2 separate regions of the Homo sapiens genome follow, and region 1 is linked to region 2. The links are contacts of gene promoters, found by promoter capture Hi-C in human tissues and cell types (Jung and others, 2019). All regions are on one chromosome and are shown on one strand. Each heading gives the region's core, a stretch centred on a gene start or on the middle of the fragment in contact. The rest is flanking DNA. Distances are from core to core; before and after follow the strand shown.

Region 1 (3,641 bases), core at 445-2,944, 79 kb after region 2:
GAGCCCTGGAGGCGGAGGCTGCAGTGAGCCATGATCATGCTACTGCACTCCAGCCTGGGTAATAGAGCGAGACTCCATTAAAAAAATATATACGTGTGTGTATATATATATATGTATTAAAATAATGTATGAAATATGTAAATGATAATCAAAGCCAAAGCCAACCTACTGCATATGTACTCTGTGCCAGGCATTGGGCCATCTATTTCTCCCTGGATCTCATTTACTCCTCACATCAATCCCACAAATCATGACTGTGGTGATTTACAATGTAGTTCCCATCATTACCTCCACTACATGGATGAGAAAACGGACACAGAGCACTTGAGTAATTTTTCCTGGGTCACGCAGCTCACAGGAAGCAAAATCAGAGTTCAAACCTGGTTTGACACTGTGTGTGGGATTTTCCTCAAACCAAACAATTCTCCAACTCTCTGGATGCCAACTGGGTACCCCTCAATTCAGTTATGACATTAAATACCTGGGGTTAGTGCAGACCCCATAGGGTAAGGGCTCAGTCCCACAAGACTGTCCCTGTTTCAGGACTAGTCATAAGTAGTGGGTCCTCAGTTACCCATAATGCCGTCCAACTTGGCTACAAATAAATCAGGGGTTCCCATGACCTCCTCCTCTGCTTTGATAATTTGCTAAAGAGTCTCATAGAACTCATGGGAACATTTATCAGTTTATTATAAGGGATATGAATGAGAGATGAAGAGATACACAGGAGAAGGTCCAGAAGGGTCCCAAGTGCAGGAGCTTCTGTCGCCATGGAGTTAAGGTGCATTACCGTCCTGGAACGTGAACGTTCACCCACCCAGAAGCTCTCTGAACACCATGCTTCAGGGATTCTTATGGAGGTGTCATCATGTGGGCAGGATCAATTATAAACTCAATCTCCAGCTCCGCTTTCCTCACTGAAGGGTGCAGCTGGAGCTCAAAGTTTCAAGCTTCTAATCAAGACTTGGTCTTTCTGATGACCAGCCCCCATCTGGGAGCCCACCAAGAGTTGCCTCCTTAGAACAAAAGACACTTCTATCACCCAGGATATTCCAAGTGAGGTCAAACACCAAATATTAGAACAAAAGATGGTCTTTACTCCCCTATCACTCAGAATATTAGAAGGGTTTTAGGAGCTCTGTGTCAGGAACCAAAGGCACAGAACAAATATGTGTTTCTTATGTCACATATATGATGCCAGAATCAAACTCTTGAAACCACACCCACAGCTTACATGTAAAATGCAAAATCTTGCTGTTTTCCAGTAATCCTGCCATTTCCCTGTCTACCATATCCATGTATGTGTTCTTTTTGTCCATTTCTCCTTCTTCCGATCCTAATTTTGAAAAAGTCATCCAGATTCTGGGCAGAAACTGAACACTGACTTCCTCTAAGGCATGGACCCAGGTTTTCTTCCATTTCTATTGGTAGAACGAGTTTGCCACTTCAACCCTGGACTTAGATCAGCCTAATGCCAATTCCGTTTTTAAAAAAATTGTTATCTGTAGCCTACTCTGTTTAATTCTCTTCAGCATTTCTTTAGAGATGCTGAAATTCATTAAAATAGTCACAAACACATGGCACTTAGTATGGGTTACATGAGTGCAGGCATTCCAGAAGATTAATCCAGAAAACCTGAGTACCATGTTGTCATAGATTGATATTTTAAAGCATGTAAGGCTTACAGATATGTATGAATAGCTACAAAAGATAATACAATCAAAGGCAGACAATTAGAGAATATTAAAACCTGACCAAAAAGATGTTTTAGATTTACAAGATTCCTATCTTAATTTTAAATGTTTTCTGCATGAAAAAAGTTTACAATGAGAAAGTAAAACCTGCAAGTAAAACCTTCTGCTTTCGGCATCACGTGAATAGAATTCTGTGGGAAGGGGAATGGCCTTGAACACAGCCATGCACCCCGGAATTCCGCCATAGATGGGAGAGACTGACTTTGGCCTTGACAGTGCAATCTCAGAGGATTCTGTAACAACCCTTTTCTCAAATAATAACAATAAAATTAAAAATCAAAACATACTGAAACTCTCTGGAATGATGAAAATGGCTTTTGGACAATGAAACTTTCACACCACGTGGCCTAGCTGAAACAGTCACCATTTAAGCTTATTCTCCAAGAAATAGGACGTCGAAACTGAATGCATTACATGCCCAAAGCAAGTTTATCTCTGGTTCAGGCAGTCCTTACTTGGCTATATATTTCCTTGTGCATGTCAGGCACATTTTGTTAATAGAGTGTTTCTTGTGCACAGAAATACTGGCTGGCATTCTCATCCACAACTGTAGTTGTGTCATTCATTTTTATCAGACCTCAGCAGCTGTGAGGCTAATTAGGACTTTTGCACAGACTTTAATGTGCACAAGAATCACTAAAGAATCATGTTAAACATGCAGATTCTCGGTCAATAGTCTGGGAGGTGAGGCAGATCTAAGATTCTACATTTCTGATAAGCTTCCAGGTAATGCTAATGCTGCAGGCCCCAAACCCCACTTTGAGTAGCAAGGGTTTGAATGAATTTTTGTCTTTTCTGATAAACAATTATCAAGTTCCAATGAAATAAGCAAGCAATTGAATCTTATTAACAATGAAATAATCAGAAGGGCAAAACAGCTTGGCATGTGACTGAGACTGGGTTTGATGTATGGGTTTCTTAGTGCCAAATAATTTTCAGAGTGTTTACTTTTTCTTTTTTCACTTGAATCTAGGGCTTTCCAGGACTTCCAGGACTCACGGGTTCCAAAGGTGTAAGGGTTAGTAGTCCAACCAGTCCACCCTGATCGTTAAAAGATCAGCTTTTCACAGTAAGAGTTATACAAATGTCAGAAAGGAGTACACTGTGTATGGTTCCATAGATGAAGTTCAAGAACAGGTAATACTAATCTGTAATGGTAGATGTCAAAGGAGTGGTTACCACATTAGGGGCAAGTGTTAAACTGACCAAGAAAGGCCATGAAGGAACCTCTGGAGTGATAAAGATGCTCTGTGTCTGATGAGATGATGGTATATAAAACTGCACATAGGTCAACCTTTGTTAAGCTGTTCAATTAAGCTGTTCTCAAAAGATTGGAGCACTTCATTGCATGCAAATTGTACCTTAGGAATCGATCCAAAAAAGCCAAAAATAATCTTAATGATATCTTTTTAAGAGTTACATAAATGTGAGATTTACAAAAGTTTGTTAAACCTTTAGTATTTGTTTTCCCAATCGTTTCGAGCTATTCCCAGTTATAGTGGAGGAAAAAGATTATCGCAATGGTAAATAAATTTATGTTTATAGATTGAACATTTTTAAAGTTTTTTTTTTTTGCCACCCCCTCCTTTTTCCTATGTCTTCAGGGAATAAGTGGATTGCCAGGATTTTCTGGTTCTCCTGGACTTCCAGTAAGTAATGGGAAAAATCCGTAGCTAGAAAATTTAAAAGTAAGCTCATTTTAATAAAGATGTTAAAACAGTCGTGCAAGAAAATGTGTTCTGATGCATTTGTTACATGAAGAAAATAGCACCTTAGGATGGTATATTATACTAGTGTGTGGATTTATATGACATATGAGTCAAAATGTACTTCCTGAAATACAAGCAGGACAGGATAGGATAGGGTAGGATAATTAGTAAATTATAT
Region 2 (3,336 bases), core at 799-3,298:
AGCATTGCCTCTTTCTTGCTGTATTTACATCACAAGTTTCTTTCCAGCTCTGTATCTGCAACAGAAATGACTTGCAGTTGACTATTACTTCCTGTTCCAAAATTGATAAAACCAAGTCTAGTCCTCCAACAAAATGACTTGGTTTCAGGAAAAGGCAATTAAAATTCAAATTGAGGAATCTTCTGGAATTTGGCAAAGAGAAGCATTTAACATTAGCATTGAGATTTTTTTGTTTGTACTTTTTAAAATTAAATACTGTCAGTTTGTGAAACATAATCATGTGACTCTCAGAACTCTTGGACACTGTCACCTCATCAACAGAACACCTACCGTTTCATTCCACAAGAGTGGCAGAAGTTTCCAGAAGAACCTTCCCTACCAATGGAAAGAAGCTACTGCATACCACACAGCAACATCTGCGATATGGTCATAAATTCCGCAGTGTTCCCAAGTTGTAATGAAGAGTTTAATATATGTGCTTTTTATTATTCTACTAAGAATATATCCTAATTCAACATGTGCGTGAAATTTTCACATGTTCGTGAAAACAGGAGCTCTCATACTTGATTGTGCATGGGAATGTACAGGAAATTTTAAAACAGCTAGAGAGTCTGATAAAATTGGCTTGGAATGGTCTGGGTAGCAACATTGTTTTATCCTCCCAAAGATTCTAATGCACAACGATAGTTGAGAATCACTGGCATAAAAGACAGAAAGAAGACTGTAAGATTCATGCTATAGTCAAAATAAAAAGAATGGGAGGAGTGTCTTCATTCACTGTTAGGGTTTTGCCTACCTGCATGGCTACAAAGTTCTAAGATACCAATAGATCCCAAATTTAACTGCAAGCAAGTGGTTCCCTAAAATCAGTGACCAACTGCATGATCATACTTGGTGTCTGAAGCCAATTGCAGCAAATATCAGCAACACTGTTCCAAAGCAAAGATTCTTAACCTGAGGATGGAATTCAGGTGATCTGTATAGGAAACTCACATAGGAAAATAAGTTGCATCTTTACTTTTAGTAACATGTCACAGAAGTTCAACATGTCCTTCCCTTATGAGCACAGGCAACAGAGCACAGTAGTATTGGCAGTTCTTGATAATTTGCACCCACCGGTATTTTCATGTCACATTTCAGTTTGGGCTATTATCTCAAAATACCATTTGCAGACATCACTACTTTGACATTACTGTTGCTTAATCGGCCTGCTGTTAAATCAAGCTATTTAATGCAATAATGATGATGCACCTGTGTTAGTTACTATATCACGACTTGAGGACTTCCATAATTGCATTCCAATAAAACTGATTCTGATTTAATTGTATTTTATGCATTTCACAACATTCTTCTGAGAAACAGTCTAATTGCTTTACCAGAGCCAGTGTGGTCCGTAGCACAGGAAACGGCGAGAGCCGGCTGGAGGACCGTGCCCTGGCACATTTGCATCGCAGGCCACCCCCAGGAAGAGCGCACCCTGACCAGAGCTGAGTCTTGTTTTGCCCTGCATTTCCGCAGATAAGATTTGGCCTGAAAAGCAGTTCAACTCAGCGGAGAATAAGATGGGCTTTCTCTTTCTCCTCAGCTGCCTCTTTCTCTTGGCATTTTGGAGTGCCCCGACTGCCAGGCCGGTAACTCGAGCCTCCAAATTAATCAAAACACACAGCACCCAGTTAAAGCCCAGGCAGACAAGCCCAGGAGCCAGACGCGCTCTCCTCTGGTGACCCCCGGGCCACAACTCCCCAGCTGGGCCCGCCACCACCCCTTGAATGCCACGCTCCCTCCACTGCCCCTCCCAGGCAGGTGCCGGGGCCCCGGGACAGCGGTTGCCCCACCTATGGGCGCCTTACCTGTGGGGACGCCCGCAGCGCCAGGAGCTGCCGCCTTGCCACCCCACGGGACGCGCACCTCCAGCCCCAATCCACCCGCGCCCCGCTGCCTCTTCGCGGCGCTCTCGCAGCCAAGCCCGGCGGCCGCAAGTTGGAGGCGGGCTGGAGGCGGGGAACGCGGACCGCCGCGGGCGCGGGGAACAAGCGGGGCCTCCCGAGTGCAGACGCCCGGCGCGCCTCCCGCTTAATCTGGGCAGGGCCGCTGGCCACTCCCTCCACCCTGCGCAGCCACCTCCCCACCGCGCAGCCACCTCCCCACCGCACACCCCCAAACGCCCCACCTCCGACCGCACCCCACTTCCCCGCCTGGGCCCCCGGACCTTGGGAGCATCACCTCCTTAACCCCTTACCCTGGATCCGCGCCCACCTGCCCCTCAGGCGCCCAGCCCTTTCTCGCCTCCTGGGCACGATGCCCGGGTAGAAGGGACACTGCCTGGTAAGTTGGGAGGGAGGGGGTATGAGGGCGGGACCTGAGCCACGTCTTCCCTCCCTTGAAGCCACAACCAAAAAGCCTGGGTGGGGAGGGACGAACCGCGCGACCGAGCCCTACAAAACCCGCCCCGGCCGAGTGGCGAGGCGAGCTTTCCAGCCGGGCTCCCAGAGCCGCGCTGCGCAGGAGACGCGGTGGCCTGAGAGCCTGAGGGTCCCCGGACTCGCCCAGGCTCTGAGCGCGCGCCCACCATGAGCGCCCGGACCGCCCCCAGGCCGCAGGTGCTCCTGCTGCCGCTCCTGCTGGTGCTCCTGGCGGCGGCGCCCGCAGCCAGCAAGGTGAGTGGGGGCTGCGCGACCCCCACCCCCGCACTTCCATCCCTCCTCCACGCGTCCGGGGGACGCGCTGGCCCCACCCGCAGCGGCGCGGTAGTGGAGCGGCTGCCGGGCTAGTGGCGAGGCTGAGGGCTTCACGCAGGTCCCGGGACAGGCAGCGAGCGGAAGGGAGCAAGCGGGGATGCCCCGGAACAGGTGGAATGCGCGGGGCTGGGGGAAGAGGCGAGGAGGGGGCTTGTCCAGTGCCTAGGAGTCAGGGATGGCGGGGACAGGCCTCCAGAGGTCAGTAAATTAAAAAATAGACACATAGATAATCGCCAGGGATGATACGTGAGAACACCGGATGTGGAGATGCACGGTGTCACGCTGGTGAATCAAATCAAGCAGCTTGGCCCAGCGCACAGAGGGCTGGCAGGAGACACCTGCAGGGAGTCCCAGCCGCCACTTCCTAGCTGGGACGTCACACTAAACCCTGACCTCTCTGGGGCTCAGTTTCTTCCTTGCAAAACTTGCCCTCCAGTTTTCCTTTGCTATTGTTGGGAAAAGCAAATGCTATCACTGAAAAATTAAGAGCACCTTAGAAATCGAACTCAGGTTAGAATCATTTAAGCAATCTGACACTTTGATTTGATTTTTGACTTGGAATTTGAGTGAAACTGGATTTATTTAAATCCATCCCATA

The links. The method cuts DNA at HindIII sites, captures the fragments that hold promoters and counts their contacts. A contact is called where the count stands out against the background at its distance.
Region 1: a fragment that was not itself captured here is called in contact with the fragment with the promoter of COL4A4 in region 2 in 2 of the 25 tissues and cell types used here (aorta and mesenchymal stem cells).

The regions. Positions count from the first base shown.
Region 1 is chr2:227,241,593-227,245,233 of GRCh38, forward strand. COL4A3 (collagen type IV alpha 3 chain) reads left to right here. Exons shown (of 52, transcript NM_000091.5): 4 at 2,728-2,772; 5 at 3,359-3,403. The region is part of intron 9 of MFF-DT (MFF divergent transcript); the gene reads right to left. Among named protein-coding and RNA genes, the nearest start is that of COL4A3, 79 kb to the left of the region's middle. The HindIII fragment of the contact is 3,783 bases long and covers 1-3,586 here.
Region 2 is chr2:227,162,157-227,165,492 of GRCh38, forward strand. It overlaps COL4A4 (collagen type IV alpha 4 chain), which reads right to left and starts at 2,049. Exons shown (of 48, transcript NM_000092.5): 1 at 1,851-2,049. COL4A3 (collagen type IV alpha 3 chain) reads left to right here and starts at 2,468. Exons shown (of 52, transcript NM_000091.5): 1 at 2,468-2,657. The coding sequence starts at 2,571. RefSeq lists enhancers at 1,376-2,277, 1,552-1,651 and silencers at 1,922-2,301, 2,522-2,701. The HindIII fragment of the contact is 11,311 bases long and covers 1-3,336 here.